Linked DNA regions of Homo sapiens: regions 1, 2, 4, 5, 6 and 7 are each linked to region 3. Evidence: promoter capture Hi-C in human tissues and cell types (Jung and others, 2019). All regions are on one chromosome and are shown on one strand. Each heading gives the region's core, a stretch centred on a gene start or on the middle of the fragment in contact. The rest is flanking DNA. Distances are from core to core; before and after follow the strand shown. Region 1 has its middle 4.1 kb from the start of LINC00174. Region 2 has its middle 54 kb from the start of LINC03011. Region 3 holds the start of ASL (argininosuccinate lyase). Region 4 has its middle 26 kb from the start of LINC03011. Region 5 has its middle 46 kb from the start of LINC00174. Region 6 overlaps LINC00174 (long intergenic non-protein coding RNA 174). Region 7 has its middle 52 kb from the start of KCTD7.

Region 1 (3,568 bases), core at 1,019-3,518, 330 kb before region 3:
CTGACCTCATGATCCACCCGCCTCTGCCTCCCAAAGTGCTGGGATTACAGGCGTGAGCCACCGCGCTTGGCTACATCCGGCTAATTTTTTGTATTTTAGTAGAGATGGGGTTTCACCATGTTGCCCAAGCTGGTCTCAAACTCCTGAGCTCAGGCAGTCTGCCTGCTTCGGCCTCCCAAAGTGCTAGGATTACAGGTGTGAGCCGCCGCGCCCAGCCTAGGATCATTTTTTTCTGTCCTAGGTGTTGATTTTTTAAATAAGAGTTTGCAGTACTGGTGTTTAGTGGTGCAATAATTTCCATTTAATCATCTGGCATACGCAGAGAGTATACCAGATGACTGAGAGTATATCTCACAGAGAGTATACCAGATGACTGAATGGGGATTAGAGCGAGTATTTAAACTCTTCATTCATTGATCCTGTTAAAGGAAAGCTTACTTAATAACATAAACTCTTGGTTATGAATTAGATGTTTCTCCTATGAAAGCTTGTGGGGATCTTTGAGCAACTTAATACCTGATTATTTCTGTTCAAAAATGCCGAGAACTAAAAATCCATTCAAACCTTTACTTTTCTCCTTTTGGAAAAGTGCATGAGGTGTTCCTTTTGGTAAAAAGACACACTGTGCGACCACAGAGACCTGAGCCTGAACCCATGAAGATGTGAACAAGGTGAACAATGAGACTATGTAAAGGGGAGGTTAATTCCAAGGTGACAGGAACTTTATGGAGAAGATTATGATTTCTACACTTTGTATCCCCTTCTAACTCTAGTATGAAGTTACATTGTATACGTTGGTGCTCTAATCTCAGTCTGTGGATATTAGATATTAAGATTGGGGAGAAAATAAAACAGCCAGTTAATGTGCACCATTTTTATAGGCACTGTCAGTAGCATATAAGAAATAGCATGTTTCTCAAAAGTAAATTAGTTCATAGTAGTCAGTTGGCACATTTGGCAGGTACTTCTGTGAACTTTTTTTTGCTATCTTTAAACTCTTCATTCATTGATCCCGTTAATCCAAAGCTTATTTAATAACATAAGCTTTTGGTTGTCAATTAGATGTCAGGAAAAACAGAGAAATGAACAGCTAATATAATGAGTTAAAAGGATTGAGGCTGTAGGAATAATGTTACCAAGAATAACTTGAGGATTGTTTGCTACTATAGCTAGCTGTGATTATCAAAATAGGGAGATGCCTGTTTTTCTCACATAAAAGTAATTGTGCAGGTAGGCTGAGGCTGACATTGGTTCAGTTGCTCAAACATGGTAAGACTGGCTTCCCTGTGCCTCTCTTCACTCTCCTTTCTGGTGCACAATGACCAAGAGAGCTCCTGTCGTCATGTCTCCATCCATCATGTCTCCATCCAATTATAAGTAAAGAAAATGCAGCATGAGCCCTGCCTGCACCCACAGTCAGGAAAAGCAAGAGGCTTTTTTTGAATCCTAGCAGAATTTTGCATAAGCCTCTTGGTTTTAAAAAAGGTGAATTTTAAAATAATAAAATAAAATAAAGCACAAACTCTGAGGCCAAGGTAATAGGATTTAAATCTGTGCTCTGCCACTTAGAAAAATTACTTAAATTCTCTATTCTTTAGGTTGCACACATATAAAATGGGAGGAAGAAAATAATATTTGACTCATGGTTTTTAAAATTTGAGGTGTTATTTCTTTAATAAACAGCTGCTATCATTTGAGAACACTTGCTATTTAGGCAGTTAGGAATTTTTCATTAGAAGGGATGTAAAGAAAGACGATGGGCATTTGTAATGGATTTAACATTCATCATTTGGCTGCCTGACTGACCCCCAGAGCTGTGATTTTACTAATGAATTTTTCAGAAGTCCCTTAGCTAGCAATGAGCCTAACCAGCCTCCCACTCTCACCATTCAGTGCTCTTGTTCTTATGTGTTTCTCTACAAACTTGGTTACTCTCACAAAGTGATAAAAACTTGCATTTCTTTTCTTTCCTTTTTAGAGACAGGATCTTGCTCTGTCACTCAGGTTGCAATGCAGTGGTGTGATCATGGCTCGCTGTAGATTCAAACTCCTGGGCTCAAGCAGTACTCCCGCCTCAGCCTCCCAAGTAGCTTGGACTACAGACGTACACCACCATGCAAAGCTAAATTTTTTATTTTTTTGTTGTAGAGATGGGATCGTGTTATGCTGCCCAGGATGATCTCAAACTCCTGTCCTCAATTGATCCTCCTGTCTCAGCCTCCCAAAGTGCTGGGATTATAGGCAGCCATGGGCCATCTGGGTCCAGTCTGCTATTTTCTTTTTTTAAATAACAACTTTATTGAAATGTAGTTCACATACCATGCAATTTGTTTATCAAAGTATGCAATTCAGTGGTTTTTAGAATATTCATGGAGCTGTGATCTATCACCACTATCCATTTTAGAAGCTTTCATTACCCTATAGAGAAATCCGCTGTTCTTTGCCACTAGCTAAGAACATGGCGGGGAGTAAGCTAGTGGCTTACTCCCCTCAACGCTTCTGTGTTCCCCATAGGCAACCACTGATCTATTTTTTGTCACCATAGATTTGCCTAATCTGGACCTTCTATATAAATAGGGTTGTGCAATATGTGATTGTTTGTGGCTGTTTTTTTTTTTCCCTCTTAGCACAGTGTTTTCAGAGTTCCTTCCTGTCATAGCATGTGTCAGTATTTCGTTCCTTCTATGGCTGAATAATATTCCATGGTACAGAAACACCACATTTTATTTATTCTTCAGTTGATGAACATTTGGGTTGTTTCCATGTATTGGCTGTTAATGAATAATGCTCCTATGAAGATTCATGTACAAGTTTTTGTGTGGACATACATTTTTATTTTTCTGGGATATATACCTAGGAGAGAAATTGTTGCATTCTATGATGTTGTACATTTAGCCTTTTGAGAAACTGTTTTCCAAAGTGGTTACACCAGTCAGGTGCAGTGACTGATGTAATCCCAGCTACATGAGAGGCTGAGGTGGGAGGATCACTTGAGCCTATGAGTAAAGAGAGACCAGCCTGGGCAAGATAGCAAGACCCTGTCTCGGTTTTTGAAAAATCAAATTAAAATGACAAGAAGACAGGTGCGGTGGCTTATGTCTGTAATCCCAGCACTTTGAAAGGCTGAGGTGGGTGGATAACTTGAGGTCAGGAGTTCAAAACCAGCCTGGCTGGGTATGGTGGCAGATGCCTGTAATCCCAGCTACTCGGGAGGTTGAGGCAAGGAGAATTTTTTGAACCCAGGAGGTGGAGGTTGCAGTGAGTCAGGATCACACCACTGCATTCCAGCCAGGGCAAAAGAGTGAGACTCTGTCACACAAAAAAAGTAAAAATATAAATAAATAAATAAAATGACAAGAAAAGAAACACCCAAAGTAGTTAAACCATTTTGTGTTCCCACCAGTAATGTATGTGGGTTCCAATTTCTCCACATTTTCACCAACATTTCTTTTTTTGAGACATGATCTCGCTGTGTCACTTAGGCAGGAGTGCAGTGGTGTGAACACGGCTCACTGCAGTCTCGAACCCCCAGACACTCGTGATCCTTTTATTTCAGCCTCTTGAGAAG
Region 2 (3,697 bases), core at 1,137-3,636, 470 kb before region 3:
AAAGGTTCTGTATACCCTGCAGATGCCAGCAGAACGGAGGGGGTCCAGCCAGTCTCTGGCAGTGCCCGCCTGCCTCACCCCTGTCAGTCACATGCTACCCCTCTGCTACCCAGGAGGCCCCCATGATCCTCCCTGAGGCCCAGCCTGCCTCTTGTCCTTCTAGCTGACCTCATACACTCATTGGTGCTATGGCAGGGCCTTCCCTCTGTAGGGCACCTGCAGGTTTCGGGGGGCCTCTTGGGGATACCTGTCCTTGTTCATGGAGACCTCAGGCTCCCTGGGGAGGCACCAGGGTGGAGAGGGGCTATATTTTTTTCAAGGTGGTAAGCCATCTATTGCATGCCCACCTGGACCACATCTATCTCTGCCTTTAAAAAATTTATTAAAATTTTTTTTTTAGAGACAGGGTCTTGCTCTGTTGCTCAGGCTGGAGTGCAGTGGTACAATCATAGCTCACTGCAGCCTCCAACTCCTGGTGTCTCTGTCTTTTTCATTTTTTTTTTGAGATGGAGTCTTGCTCTGTCTCCCAGGCTGGAGTGCAGGGGTGTGATCTCAGTTCACTGCAACCTCCGCCTTCCGGGTTCAGCAATTCTCCTGCCTCAGTCCCCCAAGTAGCTGGGATTGCAGGTGCCCACAACCACGCCCAGCTAATTGTTGTATTTTTAGTAGAGATAGGGTTTCACCATGTTGCTCAGGCTGGTCTTGAACTCCTGACCTTAAGTGATCTGCTTGCCTCCCAAAGTGCTGGGATTATAGGCGTGAGCCACTGCACCCGGCTCTACCTTTTTTTCAAAAGGAACAGTCTAGTCCCCACAGGGCAGAAGGGTGGCTTCCTTGCCTCCGACTCACCTGGCACCTTGGCATCATTGCAGATTTCTGCAAAGGGTCTGAAAAAGAAAGAAAAGAGGTGGCAGTTAGAAAATGAGGTTTTCCCCTCCTTTTTTTTTTTTTTTTTTTTTTTTTTGAGATGGAGTCTCGCTTGGTCACCCAGGCCGAAGTGCAGTGGCACAATTTTGGCTGACGGCAGCCTCCACCTCCTGGGTTCACACCATTCTCCTGCCTCAGCCTCCTGAGTAGCTGGGACTACAGGTGCCCGCCACCACGCCCAGCTAAGTTTTATATTTTTAGTAGATACGGGGTTTCGCCGTGTTGGCCAGGCTGGTCTTGAACTCCTGACCTCAGGTGATCTGCCTGCCTCCGCCTCCCAAAGTGCTGGGATTACAGGCATGAGCCATTGCGTTTGGCCGTTTTCCCCTCCTTCTCACCTGCCCTCTGAGATGTGGTGCTGCTGCTGCTGCAGGAGCCTGGTAACACCGAAATAAAAATGGGGAACACACCGTCCCGACAGAGCATTCCCCATATAGGCCCTGGACGATGGACCTGGGCTGGCAAATCATTCCTCCAGGTCTGCTGTCCTCATCTATAAAGCGAGGATATTGTCTGACCAAGGGATCAGAAACGTGTGCCCAGATTTATGCAAGTGGATAGTCATCACAGCATTATTATCAATTACTATTTTTGAGACAGTCTTACTCTTTTGCCCAGGCTGGAGTTCAGTGGTGCCATCCTAGCTCACGGCAGCCTCAAAGTTCTGGGCTCAATCAGTCCTTCTGCCTCAGCTTCCCAGTAGTTGGGAATGCAGGTGCACACCACCATGCCCGTCTAATTTATTTTTTAATTAATTAATTTTTTTTTTTTTTGAGATGGAGTCTTGCTCTGTTGCCCAGGCTGTTGTGCTATGGCATGGTCTCAGCTCACTGCAACCTCCACCTCCCAGGTTCAAGCGATTGTCCTGCCTTAGCCTCCTGAGTAGCTGGGATTACAGGCGTGAGCCACCACACCTGGCCGTTTTCCTGCATTTTCTAGTTGTTACTTCGGGGGGGTGAACTATCTGTGGGAGAAAGGGAAACCTCCACTTTTTGATTTTGAACAATTTGGGTTTTTTTGACACATGCAAATATTATCTTAATTTAAAAAAACATGCAGGTCAGCACAGTGGCTCATGTTTGTAATCCCAGCACTTTGGGAGGCCAAGGCAGGCGGATCACTTAAGGTCAGGAGTTCGAGACCAGCCTGGCCAACATGGTGAAACCCTGTCTCTACAAAAATACACAAATTAGCCGGGTGTGGGGGCAGGCACATGTGATCCCAGCTATTTGGGAGGCTGAGGCACAAGAATCACTTGAATGCCGGAGGAAGAGGTTGCAGTGAGCCAAGATGGTGCCACTGCACTCCAGTCTGGGTGATAGAGCAAGACCTCATCTCAAAAAAACAAAGAAACAATACATGTAATATAACATTGAAGGCGGGCTGGGCGCAGTGGCTCAAGCTTGTAATCCCAGCACTTTGGGAGGCTGAGGCAGACAGATCACCTGATGTTGGGAGTTCGAGACCAGCCTGACCAACGTGGAGAAACCCCGTCTCTTAAAAATACAAAATTAGCTTGGGTGGTGGCGCATGCTTGTAATCCCAGCTACTCAGGAGGCTGAGGCAGGAGAATTGCTTGAACCTGGGAGGTAGAGGTTGCAGTGAGCCAAGATCGTGCCTTTGCACTCCAGCCTGGGCAACTAAAGCAAACTCCATCTTAAAAAAAAAAAAAAGAAAGGCCGATGTGGGAGGATGGCTTGAGCCCAGGAGTTTGAGACTAACCTGTGCAATAAAAAAAAAAAAAAAAACAAACGTCTGGGCGTGGTGACTCATGCCTGTAATCCCAGCACTTTGGGAGGCCGAGGCGGGTGGATCACCTGAGGTCAGGAGTTCGAGACCAGCCTGACCAATATGGTGAAACCCCGTCTCTACTAAAAATATTTTAAAAAAATTGGCCACGCGTGGTGGCATGTACCTGTAGTCCCAGCTACTCAGGATGCTGAGACAGGAGAATTCTTGAACCTGGGAGGTGGAGGTTGCAGTGAGCTGAGATCACGCCACTGTACTCCAGCCTGTGCGACAGAATGAGACTCCATCTCAAAAATAAAGTAATAATATATTAATAAAATAATAATTTAAAAATATAAAGAAATGCATCAAAGTGTTGACTTTCAGTAGGAGACTTACAGCTATCTTCTTTTCTTCTATCTTTTCATATTTTCCAGGTTGTTTTGTGTATTGTTCTGAAAATAAGCGAATCATCTATTGTATTAAAAAAAAAAAAAAGACTGGGCCACACAGTTTGGGTGTGGTGGCTCACGACTGTAACCCCAGCACTTTGGGAAGCCAAGGTGGGAGGATCACTTGAGCTTAAGAGTTTAAGACCAGCCTGGGCAACACAGTGAGACCCTGTTGAGGCTGCAGTGGGTCAGGATCATACCTCTGTACTCCTGCCTGGGCAACAGAGTGATACCCTGTCTCAAAACAAAAACCAAAACCCAAAAGACTGTAAGGATATATGGTATAGTAGTAATAACGGAGGCTGGGTGCAGTGGCTCACACCTGTAATCCCAGCACTTTGGGAGGCTGAGGCAGGCAGATCACTTCAGGTCAGGAGCTCGAGACCAGCCTGGCCAACATGGTGAAACTCCATCTCTACCAAAAAATACAAAAATTAGCCAGGGTGGTGGTGCACACCTGTAATCCCAGCTACTTGGGAGGCTGAGGCATGAGAATGGGTTGAAGCCAGGAGGTGAAGGTTGCAGTGAGCTGAGATCGTGCCACTGCACTCCAGCCTCGGTGACAGAGCAAGACCCTGTCTCAAAAAAAA
Region 3 (3,788 bases), core at 1,119-3,618:
GCCTGGCACCGCCTCCCCCAGCGGGCTCCTGGGCCACCCTGCCTAGGTTGTTAGTAATAAAAATAACTACTTAATAAGTGGAGCTGCAGCCAAACCAATTAGTGCCAACCTACAGGAAGGCCTGGGGCAACCTGAGGTCACCTAGAACACTGGGCTTGTTGGAAGCCAGACCACTCTGCTCTAGAACCAAACTCCTATCCTTACTGGCAGGCATAAGAGGACCCCACAGGGAGATCAGAGTGAGGTGCCTCCCCTTGGGCACTGAGGAGAGTGGAGGCCTAGTGTGGTAGCAGAAGGTGCTACTCCAAGCCAGGACACATCTGGGCCAGAATGGTCTCTTCAGGGCCAGGGGATGGGGCACTGAGTTGGGCTGGGTTGAATGAGCAACAGTTAAGGTCGAATGTACATGGGAAATACCAGTTTTGGTTTTGGGACTTGTGGGTTTTTTTTCTTTTTTTGAGGTGGAGTCTTGCTTTGTCGCCCAGGCTGGAGTGCAGTGGTGCGATCTCAGCTCACTGCAACCTCCGCCTCCCGAGTTCAAGCGATTCTCCTGCCTCAGCCTCCCGAATAGCTGGGACTACAGGCACCCACCACTACACCCAGCTAATTTTTGCATTTTTAGTAGAGACGGGGTTTCACCATGTTGGCCAGGCTGGTCTCAAACTCCTGACCTCAGGTGATCTGCCCACCTCGACCTCCCAAAGTGCTGGGATTACAGGTGTGAGCCACCATGCCTGCCAGGTTTTTTTATTTTTATTTTTTTGAAACTGGATCTCACTCTGTTGCCTGGGCTGGAGTGCAGTGGTGAGATCATGCTCACTGCAGTCTCAAACTCCTGGGCTCAAGCAATCCTCATGCCTCCGCCTCCTGTGAGACTACAGGTGTACGCCACCACACCTGGGTAATTTTCAAAATCTTTTTGTAGAGACAGGGTCTCATTACATTGCCCTGGCTGGTCTGGAATTCCTGGGCTTCAGCAGTCCTCCCGCCTCGGCCTCCCAAAGTAGAAATATCAGTATTGTTGTGGTTAGCCACCATTTATTGAGCACCTACTGTTGCTCAGCCCTGTGCTAGGGATTTCACATATGTTATTACGGCCTTTTATGAGGTGGGCAATATTACCCCTATTTCACAAATGAGGAAAGAGGTTTAAAGGGCTCAAGTGACTGGTACAGAAACCAAGTCTGTTTGGCTCCAAAGTCCAGGCCCTACCCCCCTGCCATGACCCAGAAGCTTGCAGGGCACTGAGCTTGCAGGGCATTGAGAAAGAGGAAGTGAATTGCTAGCTAATGAAGGCCAAAAGGGCCTGGAACCCAGACCTCCTGCTTCCCGGAGTTCCCTTCATCAAGCATCAGGCGAACAGCCCCTCTCACCTGAAGGGTCCAAAGCAATGGCCTCATAATCTAGTGCCTTACAGAGTGAGGCCGACAGCTATTATTACCCCCATTGCCAGATAAATCAACTATGGCCCAAGGAAGGAAAACCTCTGCCTGGGAATCCAGCATCTCAGTGGTCAGGAGGAGAGGCCAGGAGCCACTGACCCTAAGAGGCAGGGTCCAGTGAGACAGGAAGGGACCAGGCACCAGGGTTGCTGGAGCCACGAGGCGACGTCCCCTTTTTCCTGGCTCTTTCCACATGCCACAGTCAAGGACAAGAACACTTAGGGGCTGAGCTTTATTCTATAAACAGGGACAATTGCTCTAGCAGGAGAAGGGATGTGGTGTGGGGTGGGACCTGACAGGAGGACACGTGGTAAGAAGGAAGGAAGAGTTGGAAGGCTGAAGGCTTGGGAGCCACTTTTCCTGGCCAGGCAGGCATCACTGTGAGGTGAGGGCAGAGCCACTCTACCCCTAGTAGTGTGGGTTGGTGGGTTTGCCACAAGGGCTGCCTGCGGATACTGGTGAGTCCTGGTAAAGGTGACTGCTGGGCTCCAGATGATGCGCCCGGGAGGGCTGGGGGTGCAGGCTTCCTAGGTAATTTTCAAAATTGCTTCCTGGAGGGCGATTCCCAGCAGGGTGGCCCGAGGCAGGTCTGGCGCCCCCACTCTCTCCTTTGGAGGCTAGGAGGACCGGAGTCCCCGAGGTCCCACTCACCTCCGAGGCCATGTTGGGCGGTTCCTCGTCGTCCGGAAGCTTCGGTCCTCCGGGTCTGGAAGACAAGACCGGACTGACGACCTCCTTGGCCAGCAGGGTCCCCCGGGCCGGGCTGGCTCCGAGTTCTGGGCACTGCGCTTGAGGGAGCGCAGCCCTTGGGGACGCGGACGTGAGCGCGCGCCACGGTGCTCGGCGTCCTCCACGCCCGTCCCGCCCATCCGGCCGCCGCGCACTCACCTCCGCCTGGCCGCACGGATAGTGTCGCGCCCGCCACTGGCCAGGGCTTTTCTGGCCGGGATGGCGTCAGCAGCCGCCGGTCCTGTCCCCACCCCTGGCGACGGCCGCGCCAATAGGAGGCCGCCCGGCGGGGTGGGCGTTGCCTCCATCCTCCAATCCTGGCCGTGGGCGGGGATACCTCCCGCTGAGCTGGAGGCTAAGCGGCCCCGGGGCGGGGAAGCGGGCGGGGAAAGGGTTGGGGGGACCCCGACGGGGAAGGGGCCTGGGCTGGGGTTGAGGAGGGTAGTGCGCTGGCGTTCGTGCTGTGGTCAGCAGACACGCAGGGGACTGGAGACTCGGGCCAGGGGTAGAGGCTATGACATCAGGCCCGGGCCTGGCAGGTTCACAAGATATATAAGGTGAAATGGCATGTTCGCTCATTCACTCATTCATTCATTCATTCAACAAACACGTACCAGGCACCTCTATGTGCCAGGTACAGAGAAAGGCATCAAGGAAAAAGGAAGGACCATCAGAAATGAAGCCTGTGCCAGGCGCGGTGGCTCACAGCTGTAATCCCAGCACTTTGGGAGGCCGAGGTGGGAGGATCGCTTGAGGCTACGAGTTGGAGACCAGCCTGGGCAATACAACAAGATCCCGTCTCTACAAAAAAATTAATAATAATAAAAAAAAAGCCGGGCGTGGTGGTGCACGCCTGCAGTCCTAGCTACTCAGGAGGCTGAGGCGGGAGGAGCACTTGAGCCCAGGAGTTCGAAGCTGCAGTGAGCTATTGTGCCACGGCACTCCAGCCTGACTCCTCTAAAAAAGAAAAGAAACGCGGCCGGAGGCCGGGCGCGGTGGCTCACGCCTGTAATCCCAGCACTTTGGAAGGCCGAGGCGGGTGGATCACGAGGTCAGGAGTTTGAGACCAGCCTGGCCAAGGTGGTGAAACCCCGTCTCTACTAAGAATACAAAAATTAGCCGGGCACGGTGGCGGGTGCCTGCAATCCCAGCGACTCCGGAGGCTGAGGCAGGAGAATCTCTTGAACCCGGGAGGCGGAGATTGCAGTGAGCTGAGATGGTGCCATTGCACTCCAGCCTGGGTGACAGAGCAAGATTCTGTCTCAAAAAAAAAAAAAAAAAAAAAAAGAAAGAAAGAAAGAAAGAAAGAAAAGAAAAGAAAAAAGAAACGCAGCCGGGCACAGTGGCTTACGCCTTTAATCCCAGCACTTTGAGAGGCTGAGGCGGGCGGATCACCTGAGGTCAGGAATTCGAGATGAGCCTGGCTGACATGGTGAAACCTTGTCTCTATTAGCCGGGTGTGGTGGTGGGTGCCTGTAGTCCCAGCTACTCCGACAGCTGAGGCAGGAGAATCACTTGAACCAGGGAGGTGGAGGCTGCAGTGAGCTGAGACGGCACCACTGCACTGCAGCCTGGGCGACAGTGAGACTCTTGTCTCGAAAAAAAAAAAAAAAAAAG
Region 4 (3,723 bases), core at 840-3,339, 390 kb before region 3:
AGAAATGCCTTTAACACAGAGACCACCTCATGTATTGCAGGTTGCTGTTACTTTAGTGGAGTTAAGAGAAATAATTTTTGGTCAGTGACTTATTGAATAAATTGACCATTTGTGCTGCTTCCCTGGGCGAGGGCATAGAGAATGGTACAAAGTAGGCTACAGTAGCCAGATAATCTTGTATGTAATTTTGAGCTATTAGTCCGGAGAATGGCATGCTCAGATTAGAGTTATAATTTTGCTTAATCAAGGAGGGCGTGATCTAGTACAATAGAAGACCATTGTCTAGAACTCATTCCTTAAGAATGCTCCCCTGCTTGCTCTGCTCATTCCAGCAGCAATCAACTCTACATTTTATTCCAGGGAGTTGATTATCATTTGGAATTATTTGTCTAGACTAATGTTTGGATACTTTGTTTTGTTATATTTAACATTAAAACTCTGACATTGATTCTGTGTGACATTCACATTCATTTTGGAAGCATTGTATTTAATCATATGAAAGTTGGTGAAACTTGGATTACAGATTGCAAATGCTAATAAGTCTTTTATTAGAATTACGGTGTCTTCATACCATCAAGTTGAGGACTGAAAAATATTTAAGAAGAGTACCTATAAATCGAAAGAAAACAGTAATGACATAGAAAACTGAGCAAAGACAGTTAATTTATTCAAAGAAATTATACTAGTGCCAATAAATATCTGTAAAGGTGGCTAACCTTAGGGAAAAGCACGTTAAATGAATTTTTTTTGTTTGCCTGTCAGACTGACAAAAATTAAAGTTCGATAATGCTATGCTTATGAGGTTATGGGAGACCAGATTCCCTCATACACTGTAGGTGGGAATGTAAATGGTATAGCCTTTTTGTCAGACCAGTTTGGTATATGTCAGAATTTTAAATGCACATACCCTTTGGCATTCCGTTTCTGTTTCTAGCAAACTGCTCACATTTTGCGGTCTGCTCAAGGTCATGATCTGCTCATAACCTTGTCCTGCTTGGCTATCAAAGGTTTATAAATTTTGTTAGTACTATTTCTGAATTTAATAAAATACTTCATTGTCCTGTTTACTTCAGATTTTTTTTCTAGTCCCTTATTTGCTTTTATGTTTTGGCTACAGATAGCCTATCAAGAACCAGCTAGATGTTTCAGTTTATGTATTTTAAGTTTTGTTTCCATTTTGACTTTCCCTGCAGTTTGTAAACTTAGATAACCCTCACCTCTTTAGAACTTTCATGAATACTTCATTTTAGTTCTTTCTATTTTCTGTTTGTTTCTACAAACTTTTAACTTTTTAAAGATACCTGTAATTAATGTAGGGGGTATCAGATTGCTGACCAGTTATTACAACACTATTGAAAATTTCCCCTTCCCCTCCTTCTTCTAACATTAAATTACCTTATATTAGATTAGATTAGATTAGATTCATTTTTGAGTCAGTCTGTCCTGTAGTGGTTTGACAGGTCTGTTCTTGAGTTCACAGTCTTCTAACTAGTTTGCAAATAAAAATTCAGAAAATTAATTTAGAAAATCAAAAAATAATTTAGTGTTTATTTTTGCTGACAGAATCATTTTGTTGAGTTCCAGAAAGTCTTGTGGGATTTTTATTGCCATTTGTAGTAAACTTACACATTTTGGAATGTTTGACATGGTTATAAGATTTTATTTTCGCACATTGCGTTAAGTATATCTCAGTGTTTCCATGTGGATTATAATTTTCTCATTAAAATATTTTCTATAAGTCTTTACATATTCATGCTATTTTGACTGATATCTCTTTTTATACTTTCTAACTTGTTATTGTTTGTCTGTTACAAGAGTTCCACAGATTTCGTGTACCTATTTAGCTTATTTCACATAAATATGAATTCTTTTATGAAAGTTAGCCATTTTAAAGTTAATTTCTCAGCAGTAACAGTGTTTTATTTTCTTTAGGCCTTCCAGATATACAGTCATATTTCTTATATTACACGGTAAGCTCCACAAGGACTGAAATGATTTATTTTTACTTATATTTGTGTCCTAAGTGCCTGTCATTCAGTAATCAATCAGTATATAAATATTTGTTGAATGAGTGCAAGGGAACACTATAAGAATATGTACCATATACAGTGACTCTATGACTAAAACTTTTTTTTCTACTTGTCTATATATATCAGGTTTTGTAAATAATGAGTATTCTTTGCTTCAACTAGAAAAAAAAAACAAATTTAAGGGAAAAAAATCACCTGTAAGTTTTATTTCTTAATTGAGGTCAATGGATAGCTTATCATTTTGCTGGAATTGATTGGATGTTTCCTGTAAGTCCCAGATGAGTTGTCTGGAGATAGGAATGACCTCTGAGGGCATGACATTGAACCCAAGAATAGGAAGCAGGGCCCGCTCAAGGATAGAGGGAAACTACTCACATCTGTAAAGTGTTTTGGTTTTGCTTTTCTGAGATGAAACTGGTTTGCATCCAGAGTCTTAAGAAAGAACACTAATAGTTCTGTGAGCTTTGTAAGTAAGCTTTGTACCTCTCTGGTCTTTGTAGGTACCTGGACCTAGAATAAATCCTAGCCCTGGGGCACAATTTATAGAATCCTAACTGTCCCAGCAGCAGAGATCATTTTTACTCTGTCTTCCCTGACATAAGTGGGACCAATTGAATCGTGCATTCTTTATGCCCAGGTTGCTCAATCAAGCTCCTATTTATTGGAGTGCAGTGCTCAAACAGGAGTGGCATGTGGCCCCTTGGAGCTCCCTCCTGGAAGCAGTGCTGGTGGTGGTTACCTGTCTAGGGACAGGTCTGTCTGCCCAGGAAAGAGTTGAGTCTCATGCAGTCGATCCCCCATGTTTCTTCCTGTGTTTACAGGATATGCTGTCTGTAGCTCTGATGTCCAATCTGGGTGTGCCGACTCTCCTGCCTTCTACCATAACAGCTGTCGGCACCACCACATAGCCTTTCAAATGATGGCACTCTCTTTTGGTGGTACCCTTGCTCTCTTTTTATACTTAGAAGCAGCAGAATGATCTGAGTGTTGTGTTTAACTGATACACATTAGTCCCATGATAGGTGTTTATTTTTATTAAAAAACATTCATGTGTGATTTTTAACAAAACTTTAGAATTTGGAATAATTAATAACGTCAAATCCATAGGAAGCTGTAAGGATAATACAGACAGGTCCTGTGTACTCTTCTGGTTTGCTTAATGGTTACATCTTACATAACTATAATATAATGTCGAAACTAGGAATTTGATATTTGTGCAATGTATGTGTATAGTGTCATGCACATTTTATCTCATACATAGATTCCTGTAGCCACCACCATAGTCAAGATACAGAACTATTCCATTACCCGAAAGACCTCCCTTATGCCCTTTTAGTCACATCCTATGTCAGCAGTCCCCAGGGCTGCCCCCAGGTTTCGTAATTCGCTCAAGGCTCTCACAGGACATTCTTTGCTATGGTTTGTTACAGTGAGGGGATACAAAGCAGGATTAATAAAGGGTAGTTGTGCATTGAGAAGATTCTATAGGACACGAGCATTGTGAAGATTCGGAGTCTTCTCTCCGTAGAGTTGCCCAGTTTGTGCTTACTTCCCCAGCCATAAACTCTAGCAACACATGTGAAGTGTTTTCTATTGTGAAAGCTCACATGAGCCTCAGAATCCAGGGCTTTTATTGGAGATGGGTCACATAGTGTATTAGTTTGTTCATTCTCACATAGCTATAAAGAAATAC
Region 5 (3,743 bases), core at 12-2,511, 370 kb before region 3:
ATATTCGCTGACTCTCCTTGGTGGTTTTAAAAACCTGTGTCCCAAAAGCCTCTGTACAGTGTGCATGATACTATGGAAAGAAGATTTACAATTTAGTGCAGAGTCTGTACTTTAAAAAGAAACCATTCTCGAGTTGGGTGCAGTGGCTTGTACCTACCTATAATCCCAGCTACTTGGAAGACTAAGGTAGGAGGATTACATGAGCCCAGGAGTTAGTGGCTGCAGTGAGCTGTGATTGTGCCACTGTATTCCAGCCTAGGCAGCAGAGTGAGACACCATCTTTGAAAAAATTAATTAGTTAAAAAAAGAAACAATCCAAGTGACTTTTATTTTAAAAATGTGTATGCAGAATGGTTTTTACCTTTGTTCTTGTTTCTCCCCACCCCGCATCTTTTTGAATGGTAGATTTGTACTTTCTATTTTTTGTTCTTTAGTTGCTTTTTGTCAGTAGAAAGCTTTGGGGATAAAGATCTTAAAGTATTTGAAAATTTATGTTAGAAGAGAAGATTCCATTATGTCTTTGTTTCACAGATCACTTAATATAAGTTAGCCAGGTAAATTTTGCATTTCACACTGATTACTTGTTTGGCCATCGTGTTTGGATAAGGTTAGCCTAAGTGCAGTTTTAATGTATTGGGTCTAGACTAGAAACAGACTTTTTGGATTTTGTATTCTTGATCTTCTTTAGTCCGTGATGCCCTTGCTCTTGGTATTTTGCTTGTTTCTGTTAGTAACATAAAGGAAAGCTTTTCGCCATACACAGCAGCTTGGTAGCAGACAAAATACAAATAACCTTCTAAGGAATTTGAAGAATATTTTCACATTTTTTTAGAGTTGGATTCACTTTCAGAGAAAGTAAATGGAATGTCTTGACTGTAAAGACTCAGTTAAAGTGTTTTAGTCTCCACAGTCATGGTGAGTGAGCTGTATAGAGGAAGTCATAGTGGTTGGCCAAGCTGAGATCACTTGCTTATACATTCCAAAGTGCCCTTTTCTTTCAGAACTCCTATAATCTTGTCATCCCAAGTAGAATCTTGTGTACCTCTTTCACAAACAGATCTAAAGACAGTGATCCTCCAAAGCGTATCTTTTCTTTTTTAGAGTTAAAATACCAATACCACCCAGACCTTAGATTCTAAATAGTATTATTCATTAAAGTGAGCCAGGGCTTCTTAGAGAAATGACTGATTCTGGGGCTGGGGCAGGGAAAAAAAGGCCCCTTCAATATTTTGGTTACATTTCAGAAGATCTAGAAGCCAGCTTGGAGGGGTTTCCACTGGCCAAGTCTGGGATAATTTGAGTGTCAAAATAAACAAGGACAATAAGGCCGGGCACGGTGGCTCACACCTGTCATCCCAGCACTTTGGGAGGCCAAGTTAGGCAGATCACCTAAGGTCGGGAGTTCGAGACCAGCCTGGCCAACATGGTGCAACCGCATCTCTGTCTTTTTTTTTTTTTTTTTGGCACAACCCCATCTCTACTAAAAATACCAAATTAGTCAGGTGTGGAGGTGTGTGCCTGTAATCCCAGCTACTTGGGAGGCAGAGTCAGGAGAATGGCTTGAACCCAGGAGGTGGAGATTGCAGTGAGCTGAGATCGTGCCACTGCACTCCAGCCTGGGCAACAAGCGAGACTCCGTCTTAAAAAAAAAATAAAGTGAAGAAATCAATAAATAAGGACAATAAATGAAGTATAACTGAACAAAATAATAATCCGTGTGTTAATTTAACTAGTAAAATAGAGAAATACAGCTGGCACGGGGGCTCACGCCTGTAATCCCAGTACTTTGGGAGGCCGAGGTGGGTGGATCACCTTTGCTTGGGAGTTCGAGACCAGCCTGACCAACGTGGAGAAACCCGTCTTTACTAAAAAAATACAAAATTAGCCAGGCGTGGTGGCAGATGCCTGCAATCCCAGCTACTGGGAGTCTGAGGCAGGAGACTCGTTTCAATCCGGGAGGCGGAGGTTGTGCTGAGCCGAGATCATGCCATTGCACTCCAGCCGGGGCAACGAGCAAGACTCCATCTCAAAAATAAAAAAAAAATAAAAAAAAATAGAGAAATACACAAATGAGAGGTTATAGTCATGTTAGTAGCAAAAATTGATTCAGGTAAAGTTTATCTGGGTGCTAAATCTTGGATGAGGGGAGGGAGTTTCCCAGGAAACAAGTTACGAACATGATCTCAAATTCACTGCCAATGAATTATTTATGTGTTTATTTTTCTTTTTTTCCTTTTTTTGTGGAGACGGGAGGTGGGTCTCGCTGTGTTGCCCAGGCTGGTCTTGAACTCCTGGCCTCAAGTGATCCCACCACTGTAGCCTCAAAGTGCTGGGATTACAGGTGTGAACCACCATGCCCAGCCAGATTATTTATTAATTATAAATAGAGAAATGGTAACTATAAAATGGGGATGTAGGAGGCAAGGATAGATGTCATGTGTGCTTCCAGACATGACACTTTGAGAACACAACATCATTTATGAAATATCTAAGCCGAAAATTTTTAACAACCTGAATCCAGTCATGAGGACACCCAATCTAAATGGCATTCAACAAGATACCTGGCCTGTGTTCTTCAGAAGTGTCATGCTGAGAGAAACAAAGGTTGGGAAAATTGTGAACTGCTCATTGTGAACAATTGAGAAACTTGGAATATGGATTTTCAATTGAGTAAAAGTATTTTATCAATGTAAATTTTCCTGAATTTGGTAGCTATCCTGTAAGGTACATAAAACAATGGCTTAATCCCTTTGCATTGCTATAGAAGAATACCTGAGGCTGGGTTACTTATAAAGGAAAGAGGTTCATTTGGCTCACAGTTCTGCAGGCTGTGGAAGAAGCATGGAGACAGGCCAGGTTCAGAGGCTCACGCCCGTAATCCCAACACTTTGGGAGGCCGAGACAGGCAGATCACTTGAGTCCAGGAGTTGGAGACCAGCCTGGCCAACATGGCAAAACCCTGTCTCTATTGAAAATACAAAAATTGGCCAGGCATGGTGGCCCATGCCTGTAATCCCTACTACTTAGGAGGCTGAGGCAGGAGTATCACTTGAACCTGGAAGGCAGAGGTTGCAGTGAGCCGAGAATGCGCCGGTGTACTCCCGCCTGGGCTGCAGAGTGTGAGACTCCTCAAAAAAAAAAAAAAAAAAGAGAGAGATTGGGCAATGGAAGGCTTGATAATCATGGTCTACTTGCTATTCCTGAAATACAAGCTTTGTTTCTGTATTAAAAACATAAGGTGCAGCTTGGTCCAGTGGCTCATGCTTGTAATTCCAGCATTTTGGAGACTGAGGCAGGAGGATCGCTTGATCCCAAGAGTTCAAGACCAGCCTGGGTAACATAGTGAGATTCCATCTCTTAAAAATAATAATAATTAGCCGGGCTAGTGCCTGTAGCCCCATCTACTCTGGAGGCTGAGGTCGGAGGATCATTTGAGCCTGGGAGGTTGAGGCTGCAGTGAGCTGTGATCGTGCCACTGTATTCCAGCCTGGGTGACAGAGCGAGACCCTGATTAAAAAAACAAACAAACAAACAAACAAAAACGCAAGGTGACTTTAAGTTGAAGAGCAAGCACTTGCCATTTGAGCCCTAGCCAAAACTATGAACTGTAATGTGGGTGAGGTTGTTCTTTTCCATATTTCCTTCTTCTTCACTTCTTTCACCTTACACACTGAATCCCTATTGGCTGTTCAAACATAACTAACCTCCTCCCTGTGTACCAAACACCTGAACTGTCTCTCACT
Region 6 (3,871 bases), core at 1-2,500, 300 kb before region 3:
ATGCTCTGTCACTTTCTCCAATATTATCTTCAAGTGAGCCACTCCTGGCCCAATTCCTGTCTCCCGTTGGCCTATAGAGGCCAAGCCTCTGCCTCATGATGGCCTCTGCAGGTCAAGCTCCTCCTCCTGGTTCCGTCTACAGGCCCAACACTTCCCTCAAATAAACTCTTCTGCCCAGCTCCTGTCCAGCTCACGGCAGCCACTGTCGGCATGAAAATTCCTCAATTCAAGCTCTCTAGGCCCACCTTCTGCCTCCCACTGGCCTGGACACGCCCAGCTCCAACCTGACAATGGTCTCTACAGGCCCAGCTCATCGGGCTCTGAGGGACCTCTCCAGGCCAAGCTCTTACCTCACGGAGGCTTCTCCAGGTCGTTTCTCCCTGTCTTCAGGCAGTGGTGACAGGTCAGCTCCTCCTCCACAGTGGCCTCGTTTGGGCAGGTCCTGCCTCTTGCAGCCTCTCAAAGCCCAGCTCCTGCCTCTGAGTGGCTTCTGCGCACCCAAATGTCCTCCAGTCAGCCTGTCCTGGCTGAGCTCCTGCGACCTGGCTGAGCTCCTGCCTCCTGTCGGCCTCTATAAACCCAGCCTCTGCTGTATGGTGGCTTCTTCAGGCCCAGCTCTTCCTCCTGGCGGTGTATACAGGTCCAACTCCTGCTTCCCAATGGACTCTTTAGGCCAGGCTCATGCCTTACGGCAGCCTTTCCTGGCCCAGCTTTTGCCTGTTGGCATACCCTCCAGGCCCACAATGTACTCAGATCAGCCACTCCATTCCCAGCTCTTCTTCCTGGCTGTGTCTACAGGCCCAACTGCTGCCTCACAACACCCTCTTTTGGCCCAGCTCCTGCCCAGCACCTGGTGGCCTCTATATGCCCCAGACTTCTTAAAGTCAACTTTGCTAGGCCCACCTTTGGCCTCCCAGCGGCTTTGACAGGACCAGCTCTTGCCTCATGGCAGCTTCCCAACGCCAGGTTTCTGCCTGCATTGTGGCATCCTTGATGGACCCAACTCTTGCTTTATGCCGGCCTTCCCACACCAAGTTTCTGCCTGCCTCATGGCAGGATCCGATAGGCCCAGCTCCTGCCTCTAATGGCCTGGTTAGGCTCATCTCATCCCTCAAGGTGGCCACCCCAGATGAAGCTCCTGCCTTTTGGCAGCCTTTAGAGGCCCAGCTCATGCATCTCATTGCCTCTTGAAGCCCAGCTCATTCCTCAAAACGGCCTATCCACGCCCAGCTTTTCCCTTTGGTGGCTTCTCCAGGCCCAGAAATTCCTCAGTTCGGCTTCGCAAGGTGAAGTTGCTGCCTCCCTGTGCCTTCTCCAGGCCCAGTTCTTCCTCCCAGCTGGGTCTACAGTCCCATCTCCTGACTCAAAACAACCTATTTTGGCTCGGCTCCTGCCCAGCACCTGGCGGCCTTTGTAGGCCTAAAGCTTCCTCAAGTCAAGCGTTCCAGGCCCAGATCATGCTGCCCAGGGGCCTTCACAGGCCCAGCTACTGCCTGACGATGGCTTCCCCAGGCCCAGGTCTTGCCTTCCCCCAGCCTCCCGAGGCCCAGCCCTTGCCTCACAGTTGCTTTCCCAGTCCACGTTACAGCCTGTTACCCGACGGCCTTGACAGACCAAACTCTTCCTTCACACTGGACAGTTTAGGACAAGCTCATACGTCTTCCAGCCTCTCCAGGTCAAGCTCCTGCCTCACACTGGCCTCTATAGGCCCAGGTGCTGAATCGCAATGGTCTGTTTAGGTCCATCTCATGCCTTTCTCAGACTCTCCAAGCGACGATCTGGCCTGACACTTGCTTCTGTGGGCCATGTGATCACTCACACTGGCCTCTTTAGGATCAGGGGATGCCTCTCCACAGGCCGAGATCCTGCCTGTTGTAGGCCCCTTCAGGATGCGCCGCTGCCTGACAGTGGACCCTCCAGGCCTAGATGTTACGTGATCATGGCCTCTGCAGGTCAAGAATTTAAATTTTCGCAGCCTCTATAGGCCAGGCTACTGCCTCCTGATAATGGCTTCTGCAGGCCCAAATCGTCCTGAAATAAGCCTCGCCAGGAACAGCACGTGTGTTGGATGCCCGAACAACCATAGCTTCTCCCGCACAGTGGCCCATGGGGGCCGGGCTCTTGCCTCAGCCTGGCCACCTCAGGCCCAGTTCTTGCCTGTTGGCGGCCGCTCCAGGCCCGGCTCCTGCCCCTCGGCCTCCTCTCCAGGCCCAGAACTGGTTCCCGTCGGCCTCTCCAGGCCCAGCTCTCCCGGCCACCTCCACGGGCCCAGCTCCTGCCTCACGACAACCACGTTCGGCCCAGCTCCTGCCCAGCTCCTGGCAGCCGTTGTAGGCCCCAGGCTTCCCTGCGTTCAGGCCTCCCGGACCCACCTTCGGCTTTCCGGCGGCCCTGAGAGACCCGGCTCCTGCCTGCCAGCGGCCTCTCCCGGCCCAGCTGCGGCCTCACGTCGGCCTCCCCAGGCCACGTTTCCGCCTGCCTCACGGCAGCCCCGGCAGGCCCGGCTCCCGCCTGCCGGGGGCCTCTTGAGGAGGCTCATCTCGTGCCCGGCCGCGGCCTCCCCAGGCCAGGCTCCTGCCTGCCGGCAGGCGCCACAAGCCCAGCTCCTGCGTCCCGAAGGCTTCTCTAGGCCCGGCTCGTGCCTCGCTGCGGCCTCTTGAGGCCCAGCTTTTCCCTTGTGGTGGCCTCTCCAGGCCCAGAACTTCCTCAAGTCGGCCTCCCCCGGTCCAGTGGCTGCCTCCCGGCCTCCTCTCCGGGCCCAGCTCTTTGCTCGCGTCTGCGCCCGTGGGCCCAGCTCCCGTCTCCAAACAGCCTCCTTCGACTCGGCTCCTGCCCAGCTCCCGGCGGCCTTCGTAGGCCCGAAGCCTCCTCCAGTCCAGCTCTCCAGGGCCGCGTCTTGCCTCGCCTCGCCTCCCCTCACCTTGCCTCACCTCGCAGCAGCCTTTCCAGGCCCAGCTCCCGCCTCCCGGCGGCCTTCCCCTGCCACGCTCGTGCCGGCCTCCCGGCAGCCTCCACCAGCCCGGCTCCTGCCTCACGCTGGCCCCTCTGGGCCCAGCTCATGCCTCGCGGTGGCCTCTCCGGGCCCAGCTCCCACCCAGCCTGACGGCGCCTCCCGGCCCCAAGCTGCCTTCCTCGATGTGGCCCAAAGTGGCCCAAAGCGTCCCAAAGTAGGCCTCGCCAGGCCCACCTCCTGCCCGGCGTAGGCCCTGAGGGGCGCGGCCCCTGCCCCATACTGGCCTCTTTTGGGCCCTCTCTTACACCAGCCCCTGTCTCAGGATTGTCTCTTCACGCCCATCTTCTGCCTCATAGTGGTCACTCAAGGCCTCGCTTTTGCCTGATGATTGCGTTTTCTGGTTTTGCTCTTGCCTTGTATTCCCTTCTTCGGGATACAGCTTTTACGTCTTCCATGGTGAACCTCATCAAGGAGACTAAATCTTCCCTGGTCTGTCATTTTTTTCACTTCACACCAGAGTGCCTTGGGAAAACCCCATCTCTTCTTTTAACCTTGAGAGTGGATTTCTGACGAATTGATAATAAATTTTTTCTCTGTGGTTTCAGTGATTTCTGTTTTATTTAATGTCCCATGGTGTTTTTTTGTCTGCTGGGGGTGAGGGTGGGAATGAATTTTTGGCCCTTTGTCTTTGCCCCGGAGATGGTAGCTTCTCACTTCATTTCTTCTGTTTTTATATTATTTACTGTTTTCTTTTCTTTTTTTCTTTTTGTTTTTCCTTAGGTTCTTACTCTGTCACCCAGGCTGGAGTGTAGTCATGTCATTATGGCTTACTGCATCCTTGGCCTTTTGGCCTCAAGTGATCCTCCCAACTCAGTAACTGAGACTATAGGCACATGCCAATATGCCTGGCTGATTTCT
Region 7 (3,730 bases), core at 107-2,606, 500 kb before region 3:
CTGCCACCACGCCTGGCTAATTTTTGTATGTTTAATAGAAACGGGGTTTGCCATGTTGGCCAGGCTGGTCTCGAACTCCTAACCTCAGGTGATCCATCTGCCTCGGCCTCCCAAAGTGTTGTGACTATAGGTGTGAGCCACCGTTCCCGGCTGAGGTTGGTTTTTTTTTGTTTTGTTTTGTTTTTTTTATCATAGAGTAAAATTGATTTGGGAGGAATATAATGTTCTGCAAATTTCTAAATTTTAATAGATTTATGTAAACACCTCCACAATCAGAATACAGAACAGTTTCATCACCCCTAAAAACTTTCTCGTGCTAATCCTTTATAAGTCACATTCTTTCCTATCCCTAGTTCTTAAATGGAATCTTACAGTATGTAAACTTTTAAGATGGCTGCTATGGTCTGAATCTTTGTGTGTCCTCCAAATTCATATGTTGAAATTCTAATCCACAAGGTGATGCTACTAGGAGGTGGAGCCTTTGGGAGGTGATTAGTTCATGAAAGTGGAGCCCTCATGATTGGGATTAGTGCACCTATAAGAGACCGCAGAGAGCCTAGCCATGTGAGGACACAGGGAGAAGGTACCTTCAGTGAACCACCAGACACCAACATCTGTTGACTTCCTGATCTTGAACTTGCCAGCTTCCTGAACTGTGAGAAATAAATTTCTGTTTTTTATAACCTACCCAGTTTATGGTATTTTGTTACTGCAGCCAGAAGGAACTAAGATGCTGGTTTCTATCAGCATAAAGCCTCTGAGATTCATCGAAGTTGTTGGGTGTTCTGATACCTGTTGTTGTTGTTTTCCTGAGTAGCATTCTGTTGTATGGATGTACCATAATTTGTTTATTCATTCACCCATTGAAGGATATTTTAGTTGTCATTTTTTGTCATCACAAATAATGCTACTATAACTGTGTATAGAATTTTGTAAATAGCAGTTTTTATTTCTCTAGAGGAAATACCCAGGAGAGGGATTGCATGGTTGGATGGTCATTGTATGTTACACATTTTTAAGAAACTATGGAAGTGTTTTCTCTAGTAGTGTCTGTACTATTTTGCATTCCACTAGGAAGGTATGAGGGTTTTAGTTGCTCTGCATCCCTGCCACCCCTTGGTATTGTCAGTATTTATTTTTTTTCTGAGGTGGGGTCTCACTCTGTCACCCAGGCTGGAGTGCAGTGGTGTAATATTGGCTTGCTTCAACTTCCACCTCCCAGGCTCAAGTGATCCTCCCACCTCAGCCTACTGTGTAGGTGGGACCACAGCCATGCACCACCATCGCTGCCTAATTTTTTTTTTTGTATTTTTTTGGTAGAGACTGGGTTTTGCCATGTTGCCCAGGCTGTGTCAGTATGTTTTATTTTGGCCATTCTAATAGGTTTGAGTGATATCTCATGGTGGTTTTAATTTGCATTTCTCTAATGATTGAACAATGTTGATCAACTATTCATGTGCTTATTTGCCACCACGTCAAAAACTGCAAATGTTTTTTTTGTAGTAGCCATCCTAATGGGTACAAAGAGATATCTCATTGTGGTTTTGATTTGCATTTCCCTGATTTAATGATCTTGAACACTTTTTCACGTGATTATTGGCTGTTGGTATGTCTTTGGAGAATTGTCTATTGCAGTCCTTTTCCCATTTGTAAACCGGATTATCTTGTTTTTTTTGTTACTGAGTGGTAAGAGTTCCTTTATGTTCTGGATATTAACTCCTTATTAGATATGTGGTTTGCAGATATGTTCTACAATTCTGTATATTGTTCCTTCTTACTCTGTCATTTGCTTCCTATGTTGTGCAGAGATATTAAAATTTGATGTAATGTATTTGTCTGATTTTGCCTTTGTTGCCTGTGCTTTTGGTGTCATATCCTAGAAGTCATTGCAAAATCCAGTGTTGGGAAGCTTTTCCCCTAAGTTTTCCTCTAGGAGTTTTCTAGTTTCAAGCCTATACATTTAGGTCTTTAATCCAATGTTAGCCCTTTCTTAATGAGTTCTTTGTATTTTGGGCAGGGAATAAGTCTTTCTTTAATGTAACTGTCAGGAATTTACTATATTTAACTTTTTCCTTCTTCCTTCCTCCCCTCTTTCCCTCCCTCCTTCCCTTCCTCATTCATTCCCTCCTTCCCTCTCTTACGGCTTGAAGATAATGGAATCACTCAGGTTTTGTTCGTAACTGGTAAGGTTTTAGTTTAGTAGGATGATAATTCATTTTCAACAGCACTTTCTTGTTTGTTCATTGGTTAGCAGGAAGAAGATGAGCCTTAGGTCTGAACGCCGAGGAATTCATGTGGATCCTGTGCAAGAAAGGATGTGGTTACTGTGGCAACCCTACCTGGCAGGGTTTCTGCTCCAAGTGCTGGAGGGAAGAGTAGCACAAAGCCAGGCAGAAGCAGATTCAGGAGTACTGGGAGCTGGTGGAACGGTAAAAGGACTTAACTAGGGGCGGTTGATCAGTGATGTGACTGGATACATAGCTCTGTCACCGTGCAAATACATTTTTTCTCTTCTGCATTCAGCTATCAGCAAGTCAGTTTAATATTAAGGAAAAGGATGTTTTCCCCTCTTCTTCTCAGTCAACCTTTAATGAACAGCTTTCAGTAGTTTCTTCATTTTGTGTTTGTCTTAACTTCTGGTTATTTTCTTTGGATTGTGTTAGTCTTAGTTCTCAAATTTAGACAAATTCCTTGGAGTGGAAGAATGGAGACAGGCATATTTCCTGGTGAAGATTAAATGAGCTAATAAATATGATGTACCCAGCGCAGGGCTTGCAAATGGCAGTCATCAAGCATTATTTCTCTCGTTCTTTTACTATATTCAGCATGGCATGTAGCTCAGTGATAAAACAGTAGTAGAACTCTGGTGACTCGTATACATAGTCCTTGCATTATAGAAATTTATTCCTTAAAAATTAGGTTACTCAAAGGCAGTTTGTATTATCTGGATATACAGTGATGTTAAAAATTAAATGATGGGTCGGGCGCAGTGGCTCACGCCTGTAATCCTAGCACTTTGAGAGGCTGAGGCAGCTGGATTACCTGAGGTTAGGAGTTCGAGACCAGCCTGACCAACATGGTGAAACCCAATCTCTACTAAAAATATTTAAAAAGTTAGCCGGATGTGGTGGTACGTGCTTGTAATCCCAGTTACTTGGGCGGCTGAGGTAGGAGAATTCCTTGAATGCAGGTATCGGAGATTGCAGTGAGCTGAGATCGTGCCACTGCGGTCCAGCCTGGGCAACAAGGTGAGACTCTGGTCTCAAAAAAAAAAACAAAAAACAAAACAAAATTAAATGATGGGATGGCTAGTGAGCATAGGAACTAGTAAAATGCCATAAATAATGTTAATTCTTTGCCAGAGCATTCTAGAAATTCTAAAACTGCTTCAACAGAAGAAAGTCAAATGGAATTCTGCTAACTCTTGCTAGTTTTTTTTTTTTTTCATCCAGTCAGCCAATATTTGTTGAGTTGACTTCTTTGCTGGTATCTGTGGTAAACCCAGAGAATTAGAAATTACACATTGCTTTCAGTGACTGTGGTCAATCAAAGAGAGAAAATTTTAACCCAGAACGTGAATGATCTCCTCAGGCTTCCGACTGCATGCCTCATGCTGTCAGTAGCAGACCCTGTTTCGAAAACAGAGTAGAGGCCACTAGGCACAAACTCTCTCAGCTTCCTCCCCTGGCTACATAAAATGTACTAATACCTTTATATTAACTTCTTGTCT

Evidence for each region. The method cuts DNA at HindIII sites, captures the fragments that hold promoters and counts their contacts. A contact is called where the count stands out against the background at its distance.
Region 1: a fragment that was not itself captured here is called in contact with the fragment with the promoter of ASL in region 3 in 1 of the 25 tissues and cell types used here (mesenchymal stem cells).
Region 2: a contact is called between a fragment that was not itself captured here and the fragment with the promoter of ASL in region 3, in 1 of the 25 tissues and cell types used here (lymphoblastoid cells).
Region 4: a fragment that was not itself captured here is called in contact with the fragment with the promoter of ASL in region 3 in 4 of the 25 tissues and cell types used here (heart right ventricle, mesenchymal stem cells, spleen and 1 more).
Region 5: a contact is called between a fragment that was not itself captured here and the fragment with the promoter of ASL in region 3, in 3 of the 25 tissues and cell types used here (IMR-90 fibroblasts, mesenchymal stem cells and thymus).
Region 6: a contact is called between a fragment that was not itself captured here and the fragment with the promoter of ASL in region 3, in 3 of the 25 tissues and cell types used here (lymphoblastoid cells, mesenchymal stem cells and thymus).
Region 7: a fragment that was not itself captured here is called in contact with the fragment with the promoter of ASL in region 3 in 1 of the 25 tissues and cell types used here (mesenchymal stem cells).

Annotation. Positions count from the first base shown.
Region 1 is chr7:66,402,754-66,406,321 of GRCh38, reverse strand. No RefSeq gene overlaps it. Among named protein-coding and RNA genes, the nearest start is that of LINC00174, 4.1 kb to the right of the region's middle. The HindIII fragment of the contact is 3,022 bases long and covers 758-3,568 here.
Region 2 is chr7:66,546,065-66,549,761 of GRCh38, reverse strand. It overlaps the pseudogene RABGEF1P1. Among named protein-coding and RNA genes, the nearest start is that of LINC03011, 54 kb to the right of the region's middle. The HindIII fragment of the contact is 6,781 bases long and covers 1-3,697 here.
Region 3 is chr7:66,074,399-66,078,186 of GRCh38, reverse strand. It overlaps ASL (argininosuccinate lyase), which reads right to left and starts at 2,368. Exons shown (of 17, transcript NM_000048.4): 1 at 2,331-2,368; 2 at 2,094-2,148. The coding sequence starts at 2,105. RefSeq lists an enhancer at 1,818-2,097 and a silencer at 2,198-2,727. The HindIII fragment of the contact is 4,995 bases long and covers 1,684-3,788 here.
Region 4 is chr7:66,465,929-66,469,651 of GRCh38, reverse strand. No RefSeq gene overlaps it. Among named protein-coding and RNA genes, the nearest start is that of LINC03011, 26 kb to the left of the region's middle. The HindIII fragment of the contact is 5,421 bases long and covers 1-3,723 here.
Region 5 is chr7:66,444,385-66,448,127 of GRCh38, reverse strand. It overlaps the pseudogene RABGEF1P2. Among named protein-coding and RNA genes, the nearest start is that of LINC00174, 46 kb to the right of the region's middle. The HindIII fragment of the contact is 4,488 bases long and covers 1-3,505 here.
Region 6 is chr7:66,375,745-66,379,615 of GRCh38, reverse strand. LINC00174 (long intergenic non-protein coding RNA 174) reads left to right here. Exons shown (of 5, transcript NR_026873.1): 5 at 1-3,572. Among named protein-coding and RNA genes, the nearest start is that of LINC00174, 23 kb to the left of the region's middle. The HindIII fragment of the contact is 3,814 bases long and covers 1-3,157 here.
Region 7 is chr7:66,575,454-66,579,183 of GRCh38, reverse strand. It overlaps the pseudogene RABGEF1P1. Among named protein-coding and RNA genes, the nearest start is that of KCTD7, 52 kb to the left of the region's middle. The HindIII fragment of the contact is 3,042 bases long and covers 1-2,877 here.